Regions from separate parts of the Homo sapiens genome. Here regions 2, 3 and 4 are each linked to region 1. The links are contacts of gene promoters, found by promoter capture Hi-C in blood cells and fetal thymus (Javierre and others, 2016). All regions are on one chromosome and are shown on one strand. The core of a region is centred on a gene start or on the middle of the fragment in contact, and the rest is flanking DNA. Distances in the headings are between cores, read along the strand shown.

What was found. The method cuts DNA at HindIII sites, captures the fragments that hold promoters and counts their contacts. A CHiCAGO score of 5 or more calls a contact.
Region 2: a contact is called between a fragment that was not itself captured here and the fragment with the promoter of GAP43 in region 1, in 1 of 17 cell types (endothelial precursors). The highest score is 5.6, in endothelial precursors.
Region 3: a fragment that was not itself captured here is called in contact with the fragment with the promoter of GAP43 in region 1 in 2 of 17 cell types (megakaryocytes and total CD8 T cells); the score reaches 5.4 in megakaryocytes.
Region 4: a contact is called between a fragment that was not itself captured here and the fragment with the promoter of GAP43 in region 1, in 1 of 17 cell types (total B cells). The highest score is 5.6, in total B cells.

The regions. Positions count from the first base shown.
Region 1 is chr3:115,622,063-115,624,762 of GRCh38, reverse strand. It overlaps GAP43 (growth associated protein 43), which reads right to left and starts at 1,253. Exons shown (of 3, transcript NM_002045.4): 1 at 1,044-1,253. The coding sequence starts at 1,073. The HindIII fragment of the contact is 1,952 bases long and covers 1-1,923 here.
Region 2 is chr3:115,201,621-115,204,478 of GRCh38, reverse strand. No RefSeq gene overlaps it. Among named protein-coding and RNA genes, the nearest start is that of ZBTB20, 56 kb to the right of the region's middle. The HindIII fragment of the contact is 1,029 bases long and covers 1,014-2,042 here.
Region 3 is chr3:115,230,677-115,233,475 of GRCh38, reverse strand. No RefSeq gene overlaps it. Among named protein-coding and RNA genes, the nearest start is that of ZBTB20, 85 kb to the right of the region's middle. The HindIII fragment of the contact is 1,241 bases long and covers 683-1,923 here.
Region 4 is chr3:115,113,776-115,116,589 of GRCh38, reverse strand. The region is part of intron 1 of ZBTB20 (zinc finger and BTB domain containing 20); the gene reads left to right. Among named protein-coding and RNA genes, the nearest start is that of ZBTB20-AS4, 15 kb to the right of the region's middle. The HindIII fragment of the contact is 157 bases long and covers 1,324-1,480 here.

The DNA.
Region 1 (2,700 bases), core at 4-2,503:
TTGCTGCGGAATACCACACTCGTCATTCCTTCCCACTCTCACCCCAATCAAGTTTCTAAAATGTCTTTCAAGAAATAAGCGAGCAATTGGAAATGGCTGTAAAACCTGGGCAGTGGGGGAGGGAAGGAGGGGCTCTGATTCTTGCTAATCTTGGATGTGTCCCTCTTCCTGATGAAAATGAGTCACCATACTTATTATCCAGGATGTTAGCCTGTCTCTGGTCACTGACAATCCCAGGAAAGAAGCAAGGGAAGGGGATAAGAGAAAAGACCTGGTTTCCAACAGGTAATACCCGGCTGTCTTTCCCATCCCATCGGAGCTCCTAGGGGCGTGGTCCACCCTCTCCTCCGACCAGCTGGTGCACAATCGGCTGCTGATCTTAGGAAGGGGATTTTCTCCTTCTGCATGGCCAATTTCTCCCCCAGCCCCAGTTGTCTTAGCTTCTCTTAAAAAAAAAAAAAATCTATCAAATCACAGTTTCATTCATTCATTGAAAAATAAATACTAAATAAATAAGACCTGCACGTTTTTCCATAAATACCTGCGCCCCTTCGAAGCTCATGCATGCACGAAATAAGGCATCTTCCGCAGCACATGTGAGAAAATTGTATGACAGAGAGGCAATACTCAGTTCTGAATATTATTTCCTCAACCCTGCTTTTTTGCAAATAATATAAAGAAATGCCTCCCCATCTTGTAGGTAGAGCCCACATCATCTCCCCCACACCCCTTTCTACGTCCACACCCTCAAGACCAGAGACCTCAAATGCTGAGCATTCACTAATAAGAAAAAAAAAAATTATTTCTAGCCAAACAGGCATGTTTTTTCTACCCTCACCCTAATTAGTAGCAGCATTCCAAAACCAGAGCATGAAAGACAGAAAAGAATAAAAGCTGGGATGCAACCATCAGTTACCATATGCTAAGGAAGCGCGAGCACCACGGCCAGAGCAGAAGCAGTAAAAAAATTGTTTGCCTTTACGGGGAAATACTGTACTCGGGTTATTTCACAACAGCAAGAAGTAAAAAATCTTTAGCTCTACCTGTTTGGTTCTTCTCATACAGCACAGCATGGTTGTCTCGTCCCTTGCCTTCTTCCTGCCTTCTCTCCTTTCCTTCTCTCTCTTTCTTATTCCCCCCCTCTCCACCTCTTTTCTGCTCGCTTGCTCACTCGCTCTCTCGCGCTAGCGCGCTCTCTCTCCCTCCCTCCCTCTCTCTCCCTCACACACACCAGGGCAGTTAGCAGCAACTGTAAGGTCCACAGCTATTGCTCATCGCACATGCTCGCTCCCTCTCTCTAGCGCTCTCTCTCTCTCTCCCTCTCTCTCTGGTGCTCTCTCTCCGCTGTCCTCTCTTCCCTCTCTTCTCCTTTTTTCTCCTTCCCCCCAATATCTATCTATCTGTCTTTTTCTTCCCTCTCTCTCCGTCTCTTTCTCGGAATTGTTCTCTAGCCTTCAGTGACTAATCACTTCCCCCAGCCCCTACCCCCATTCTAGACAGTCGCCCCCTCCCAGTCCCCTGCCAGCCTCATGAATATTTAAACACCTCCAATCTGGACCCAATTACCCACCGACTTTTCCACTGCATTGAGAGGGTGATGGGGTGGGGGCAGAGAAGGATATTCCAGTCAATCCAGGAGATATGATAGAGCATGTTTTAGGGAAGAGGGGCTTGAGGAATCCTTGTATTTCTTTAAGAACTCTTTTCCTCTTTTCCTAGTATTATAAAAGCAAAGAACAGCTATTTCTAAAGAGGAATTGTAGTCAGTCCTATACAATATAAGTCATATCTGCCATTACATTTTATGCATAGTTAATAATTGTGGAGGTTAATTTCCCTCAAAAAATGAAATAACATGTAAATATCATACACTGTTTATATATTCTTCTCAGTATACATATAACCTGAAATAAATACAAAGCTTAGATATGCACAAGCATATTTTATATATGTTCCAATATCCTGGAAAAAAATCCACATAAATATATTGCATTTTAAACATTCTAAGCACTTGAGCTCAGAAATAATAAACAATGTTTAAGAATTGGCATCCATATCTAAAATCACATGGTAGTTTTTTGTTTTTTCCTTAATGCACATATACCTGTTTGTAAATTGTGGTTTCTTCTAATTTTACTGAAAAAGCTGAGCACATTCAAACAGGTCTGTGTAATATTGACGGTGATCAAAATGATATTTTACAATTTGGGCATGAGAGATTAAAGTGAATTCATCTGAGATGAGAAGAAACGATAAGTCATGAAGCCTACTTCTTGAATTCCTTCTATGGCCTTTCATAATTTTGGGGGAGGAACATGTGACTCTTAAAGTGTGTATAGCACAATTTTTAGTTATTTATTGTTGAATGAGTTTGAGTGTGTTACTGAAGCTCTTTGCACCTAATTTTCTCATCTTTAAAATGGAGATAATAATGCCAATCTTGACAACATGTTTTGAGGACTAAATGATATAACGCATGCAAAGCACAACAGTCTCTCTGAGTGTATAATAGCTTTACTCCAGAGACTGTACTTTTCTGAAATTCGGGTGACATTTGCAAGTGAATATCTCAAAGAAGTTTTCAAACTATTTCTTGTTGTTCATTAGTGATGACAAGTACCCCTAATTAAACAGCTCATATTCTTCATAGTCCCTCCTAGACCTCCTAGACATAAACCTAGCTAATAAGTGGCAACTAGG
Region 2 (2,858 bases), core at 279-2,778, 420 kb after region 1:
AAGTCAGAGCACTATAGGAAGAGTCTCTGGATAGTAGCTATACTTCTTGTTGGGCACACTTTGGTCTGCAATTAAGTTAGTCCAGTTTGAAAGTGGCCCGAAAGAAAGTTCAGTCCCCAGAGAAAGTAGATTTACAGAAAAAAAAAAGGAAAGAGGATTAGAGTATTAGGTCAATGATGAGGAGGTTATGGTCCCAGTAGAAAGTTAGATTGCACACCAGACAGGAAGCAGAAACCATGCACACGGACTAGTTACATATGTTGAACATTACTGGGCAGATTGCCCCTTACTGCAGAAGCATGTGGCAAAGGGCTTTGCCCAGGACACTAAAACTCAGCCTGGAGGCCACAGACCATTTCCAGACTCTATTCACTTATAAATTTGAACAACTAAAGTACTGACAAGTTTGATTTCCACTGGTTTAGGGAGTTGTAGAATTTAACCTATAGGAGAAAGATTGTTGATGCTGGTGTTTGGACAAGACTGGGAAAAAGCAAGAACTAAGTAATATATATCTGTAAGAAAATGAGGGCTAAGGAACTAGAAGACACTTGAATGGCTTTAGAATAGGAATAATCATAGACACTGTTCCACAGAAAGTGGAAAACCTTCTTTCTGTGGAAGAAGTGTGTTGGGTAATTTTTAAAATCTCTACTTATTGTTTATTCCTTTGTCCTTGTGAGCACAGTCACGTCATTATTTGCAGTCATAAGATTTCCAAGCCACAATTACCTTATACAAAGCTTTTGTTAATATTTTGTGCCATTTTCTTTCTGGCAGAACAGGCTTAAGAATGAATAACAAGTAATTTATTTGGTTAATCGATATATTGCAAGATATCTACTTTATTTTCTTCCTAAAGCTACACAAACTATCCATAGCAACTCTGTACAGTAACAGCAACACATCACCTGCTTCACTGCCTGCCTTAGCATCTCTCTACTACTCCCAGCTACGGTCATTTGAAGGCCATTTACACACTGTATTCTTCTGGTTGGGAAAAATGAGAAGCTTAGATGACAGCCATTTTACCCAATCTACCTTACTGCTAGCCTTGTTCTAAGTTTATGGGAACAAATCTTGAACTTCAAAATTAAAGGTAATACCACACACGGATGATTAGTGGTATAAATGATTAGCAGTATAAGCAGTTAGCAGTAAAAACCTAGGTCTTGTCTCCAGTGACCAGTCCCCACTTCCTGTCAGAGTCCCAGTGACTGGGTCTGTCTATTTACTGTGCCTAATTGATTGCACATTCTTCATTCAATCATTTAAGAATTATTAATTGACATCTACTTTGTGACAGGCATTATTCTAGGTAGGAGGAATACAACAGTAAGTAAAACAGACAAAAATCTCTGCCCTTAGGACTTTCATTCCAGTTGAAGAGGGAGACCAGCATAGCTGGAGCAGGGAGTGCCAGGGGAGAGCAGCAAAAGATGGCACATTTCTTTACAAGAAGTAAAGAGGTTTAGTAAAGCAATGATTACATAAGCTCTGCAAATCATGGTAGGGAGTTTGGATTTTATTTTCAGTGGGATAAGAAGCTACTCAACAGCTTTGAGCATAAAAGTAACAAGATCTTGTTTACATTTTAAAAGAATTTCTTGGGCTGCTATGTGGAAAAACTAGAGTGGGAGCAAAAAGTAGAACTAGAAGGCTTTTGTAGTTGTGTAAGGCAGACATGACTATCGTTTAGACTAGGACAAGGCAGTTGAGATAGCAAGTGGTTGATTTGTGCTAGATGTTTACGGCAGAACTGATAGAATTTGCTAATGGATTGAATTTAGGGAGGGGAAAATAGAAATCAAGGATGATTCTTAGGTTTTTACCTGAGCAACTGCGTAAAAAGAGTGCCATTTGCTATAGAAACATCAAGTTTGGACGGTTCAATTTTGGATTTGGGATATGTTAAGTCTGAGATGACTATTAGATATTCAAATAGAAGTGCCAAATTGGAAGTTGGATAGAGCCAGGAAGATGAGGAAGAAGATCATGCTGGAGAAAGACATTTGTGAGTCACCAGTGGATCTGTGTAAGCTTTTAAGGAAATAAATTTATCTGCTGTGTTCTGAGGAAAGAAGAATTTATTCCCTTGTAATGCAACTATGGTATATTTCTTTGCCATGTAAGTCCCAAAACATACCCTGTATAGGTTATATTATGTTGATTGCAAGCAACAGAAACCATGTCTGAATAACTCAGGCCAAAAAAAAGGTAAAAAGAAAAATAACATTTATTAAAAGTAATCTTTCAGTTCTCACACTGAATGAAATAAAAAGTTGAAAACCTCAACTCAGGAAAGGTAGCAACCAAGGCCTCACCAGAGACCTTAGTGGTAAGAGTTTGAGAAACTGACATTAATAATATTCAGTTCCAATGACTTCAAGTCTGCCTAAGTCACGATGATGCCCTAAAAAAGCAGGTGAAGCACTGACTGTCCCTCATCTATTAAGCAAAGGAGTAGAAATAAATCCTTGCTACTCAATATGTGGTCCTTGGGTGGACCAACAGCTTGTTTAGAATGCAGAATCTCAGATTGTACACTCTGGACCATCAATCAGAATTTTCATTTTAACAACACCCCCAAGTGATTTATATGCACATTAAAGTTTAAGAAACACGGCCAGGTGCAGTGGCTCACACCTGTAATCCCAGCACTTTGGGAAACTGAAGCAAAACGATCAATTGAGCCCAGGAGTTCAAAACCAGCCTGGGCAACATGGCAACACCCAGTCTCTACAAAATAATTGAAATATTAGCCAGGCATGGTTGTTTATGCCTGTGGTCCCAGATACTCAGGAGACTGAGGCAGGAGGATTGCTTAAGCCCAAGAGGTGGAGGCTGCAATGAGTCAA
Region 3 (2,799 bases), core at 54-2,553, 390 kb after region 1:
GTAGAGACAGGGTCTCACTATGTTGCCCAGGCTGGTCTCAAACTCCTGTCATCAAAGCAATACTCCTGCCTCGGCCTCCCAAAGTGCTAAGATTACAGGCATGAGCTTCTGTACCCATCTTATTTTTTAATAATGACTGTTTAATAAGTGACTCACAAGATTCCTGAAAATTTAACAATCTGCTCTCAGGAACTGGTGCAAGCCAGATTCAGAACATCTCTGTAACATCCTTCCCTTTTTCAATTGGTGAATGCAGCAATAGTTGAGGACCACTGCTTTAATGTTAATTGGCATAGCCCCATTGCTTACTCATTACTGTGAGCATGCCCAGCTCCTCTTAATCGGGCATAACCAGCCAGGAAGAGGGAGAAGCAAATAAATTACCCCCTTTCCTTCTATCACTCTCCACTCATGCTTCTCTGAATCCTTGCTTCAGGATTGCCCCTGGAATGACACATCAACGTATTTCCTATCATTTTAAACCCTGTGTTTCCTTCAAAATAGTTATGCACATAACTACAATGTTTAATAAGTGCTTCCATCTCTCTTAAAAGAATCACTTGATTGTTCATGGGTTATATTGTAAAGCAAGAGGGTGAGAGGAACTTTTTTATTCCTAATAAATACTGTTAAGAGTATTGATGCCTTAAACTACTGAGTGAGCACCCTCTTGGCTTAAGCTTCAGTACGATATATCCATCCATTATTTATAACCATTTAAAATTTTTAAGTAGTCCAATCCATGGTGTTACTTACACTTATCTTTTCTATGTTCTAAATCGTGTGGCTTCAGTTTAACAATGAGAAACATAATATGTATTTTCATATCCCAGCTGAGAAGACTAAATTTTCACCACTTTTACATACACTTTACATAGAAGGAACAATCACAACAGAGTAATTCTAGCACAGAATTTTATCATAACCAAAACAAAAAATATTGTTTAACAGTATATACTGCACTTCCTGTAATCTTTACTCAACCTAAAAGCACAAATTTACATGGATTTTCAAGGTACAAATCCTGAGATTGCACCCCTAAGCCACTTGGCTTATAAAACAGATGACTCCTTTCTGTAAATATTAGGCTACACTGCCATAGTCACAGAATAATAATGCTGGAAGGAAATTAGACAGTATATTATCTAGCCTACCTCTTAATGCCCAGAGAATTTGAAAGTTGACACATGCATGCACACGCGCGCACACACACACACACACACACACAATCACCCAGCTAGTTAATAACCAAAAAAATAACTAGGCCGAGCACAGTGGCTCATGCTTGTAATCCCAGCACTTTGGGAGGCTGAGGTGGCAAATCATTTGAGGTCAGAAGTTTGAGACGAGCTTGGCTAACATGGTGAAACTTTGTCTCTACTAAAAATACAGAAATTAGCCAGGTGTGGTCCCACATGCCTGTAATCCCAGCTACTTGGGAGGCCGAGCCACGAGAATCACTAGAACTTGGGAGGTGGAGTTTGCAGTGAGCCGAGATCATGCCACTGCACTCCAGCCTGGGTGACAGAGCAAGACTCCATCTCAAAAAAAAAAACAAAAAAAGAAAAAAGAAAAAAAAAAACCCCTAATATTTATTGAGCATATATATATATCCTATATGTATCATATATAGAGGAGTTTGAGTATATATATGATATATATAGGAGATATAGGAGATATATATCATATATATGGGAGTTTATAAAGTATATATATATCTCCTATTTATATCATATATATATATGATATAAACTCCTATATATATATATGGGAGTTAGATGTAAAAGATATAGAACTTGTATAAGTTTCAGTGATTCAGAACTAAAATAAGTGATGAAGCTCCAAAATGATCCATATATATGGGAGTTTATTAAGTATTAACTTATGTGATCACTAGGTCCCGTAATAGGTTGTCTGCAAGCTTGAGGAACAAGAAGAGCCAGTCCAAGTCTCAAAACTGAAGAACTTGGAGTCCAGTGTTCCAGGGCAGGAAGCATCCAGCATGGGAGAAAGATGTAGGCTGGGAAGCTAAGCCAGTCTCACCTTTTCATGTTTTTCTGTCTGCTTTATATTTGCTGGTAGCTGATTAGATGGTGCCCACCAGGTTAAGGGTAGGTCTGCCTTTCCCAGCCCATTCAGTCAAATGTTAAGCTCCTTTGGCAACACCCTCACAGACACACCCAGGATCAATACTTTGTGTCCTTCAATCCAATCAAGTTGACACTCCGTATTAACCATCACAGATAGGTAGATAAATGAGTGCCCTAGGAGTGTGTGTATATATATATGTGTGTGTGTGTGTGTGTGTGTGTGTGTATGTATATATACACATAAATATATGTTTATATATATGAATTTATATATATATGAGTATATATATATGAATTTATATATATATGAGTTTGTATATATGAGTTTATATATATATATGTTCATATATATATATATATATATCCTATTAGTTCTATCCCTCTAATACACTACCCAGTCAGAGAACCCTAATACATTACCCAATCAGAACTTAATCACTCTCACTTTATGTACACTTCTAACAGCTTGTCTTTATGGGTTCCAAGACCACAGCAGACTATAAGCAACATGATTTTATTAGGGAGAGGACCTACTTAAATCAATATACTATACATTGATAGTATAAAAGTGAAAAGAGTTATTATGTATGGAATGTCTGCAATATGAAAGACAATTAAGAGTGGATACAAACACAAGAATCATAGCAGTATAGGAAAAATCACGTAGAAGTAAGCAGCCTTGTATGTTCTGATGGCTCTTGAGTGTATC
Region 4 (2,814 bases), core at 153-2,652, 510 kb after region 1:
TCACAAAAATGTTATCTCTTATTATCAATCTAATGTAGTTATCAAACAGTTCTGTGATATAGTTATTCTTATTTTATAGATAAGCTATATGAGACTCATGGATAAGTAACCTGCTTCAATATACATATCCAATAAATATTTTTAAAATCTGAGTCCAAAGCCCATACTGTAGAATAGTGGCCTCAAAAATAAAGTCCATGCATTCCAAGAAATATGCAAGATGATGCGTTAGGGTTTGAGAGGAAATAAAAATTGTTATTTGTGTTTTTTATTTAAAAAATCTAAGAAGTTAAAGTTACCAGCAGTTAATATGCCCAGATAGAGCTGGGCAATATCAGAGCATTATTTACATGCATTGCTACTTAAACAGAACATCCTGATGGGAGAGAGTGGAGTTTGTTAAAGAGTTGGAGCTACTAAATGTTATCTGTGCCTTGTTATGTGGAGTCACAGATTAGTGACAGATTAGTTTAACTAAAACTAACTCTTACAAAACAGACAACTGACTGAAAAAAAGCATAGAAAAGATGATACTAATAATCCAAGCCCATTTGAAAAAGAACATCCCTGAAACATATTATGAACACTTTGTAAACTACATTATAAAGTAAGAACAATGATGATTTAGCAATATTTGAACATTGATCAAAAATAATAATCAAGAAGTCTATTTGAAATGATTTATATTCACTGTCATTGAAAAAGAATGTCACCCTCAGTGTATGGTGTGCGATGGTGGAAGACCATTTCATTGGTAAGGCATTAAAATCTAACTACCTAGATCATGAATCAAGCAGTGTTTAATGTCACGTGAGACTCAGTACAGACTTTACAAAATCATTAAATTAATATTTAGAAGACTTTTGGGGATTTAAAAAACAATATTAAAATACAAACATATTTACCATTGGAAACACTGTTCTTCAAGAGCAATAATGGCTGAAATAATGTGTGAAAAATAATATGGCAACAAACTATCACATTTGTCAGCAAATACTGCTAGAATATGTATAGAAAACATTGCTGAAGATTTGCAAAAACAAGTATTGAACAAATTATGCAGTGTGGAATGTTTACTATATAGTTAAATGAAAGTACCAATATTTCTAACATTTCATCCAATGATATTTGCTAGGCTCAATTGAAATAATTCGAAGAACTATGTTGTTATAAATCACCAAAATAATCACTGGAGAAGATTGTGGCTAAACAGCAAAATACTGCCCTACAGTAAAACAGTGTGTTCTTGAAAATCTATGTTATCTATAGTTACATAGTTTTAGAATATTGGAGTGGTCGATTTGAATGGAATAGAAAAAAGCTTGCCGAGGCAGGTTACAGAACTACTTCTACACATGAAATCCCTTCAGTCTTTTACAGACAAGCTATTTTAACAAATAAATTGAAGTCACAAGTACACACAAGTGCTGTAGGACATCATTGATGTGGTCACTTTGTTTTCGTTTTTTAAGTTAAAGCTTTAAAATGTAGTCAAAAATATGTTACCAAATGTGAAAGAATCTTAAAATTTTAGTGGAATCTTTATGATACTTTGTAATAAGATGGAGAATGGGCCATGAATATCATTTGCACCACTTGAGGTTCACTGGTTATCCAGTGGTAGAGTATTGAGAAGTAATAAGAAATTTATGGCAGTTATGCATTTTTCTTTTACAGAATGACAAGGTTCTAATTTTACTCACCTTTTCTGTTATGACAGGTGACTGTCCATACTATGCGCTCTAATGTATATTTTTGAAAAATAACATATTCGATCTGTCTTTTTAAAGTAGTAGTACTAATAATGAGTGAGAAGGTAACTGCTTTTTGAAGGACCTGTGGTTATGGAGAAAACATTTCATATTGAATGTTTGTAATTCTTTTCATTACAATGTGATTTTCTTGCCAAAAACCAATGTATTTGTAAAACTAGTTTCTATATACATTGAAAATTGTACAAAAATATATTGGCATATTTTGTAAAACTTGGAACATAATGTTATAACTTACTTTAAGATCTTTCAAATGTAATCTTTAAATTGATTTTAAAATCCTTTTGTTAAAAAATAAAACGCTACACCTCTTAGTTTATAGGAATGACTTATTCATCTGAAGATGGAAATTTACTAGCTAAATTTCAACAAAGTATTTTACATAATTGGCCATTAATATTGAAAATTGATTATTTTGATGTAGTAAGCACAGCCATTGATACTCTTCTTCCATTTGAATTTACTATTTTGTGAGGCTTTCTCCCTCAACTTACCACCACCCCTCCTCTGCACCCATGACAACCATTATATCTAAGTAACCTGAAAATAGTACTGTATTTTCAGATGACTGTTTTACAAAGTGTAAAACCAAGCCAAGACGTAGAGAATGACACATATTTACTCAAATTTTTGTTTTAATGTTTTTCAGTAAGAGCATCAAGAGCAGTTTGCTCTTCAGTAAGAGCAAAATGTTTTAAAATTGTTGATAAACAGAGCCCCAAATTTAGAATGTTTACTTCTTGTTTACCTCAGTCTTTTAAAATATCTATTGCTGCATGTTCTGTAATGTATGTATTGTAGTAATGTATGTATATTATAAATAATTATGCATATATTGGAGTATGGGCTTATATTAATCAATGCCAAGACAAACAGAAATGACTCAGAAAAGAGGAACTTCAATCCAGGGAATTGATTACAAAAGTGTTGGAAAGTCTGGTTGAGCAAATAGAAGGTGGCAATATTATTTAGTAACAAATTCCTTCAGAAAGCAAGGGAAAGTTTTGTTATCCAGAGCCTATAAGTATTATGCTGCCGCTGC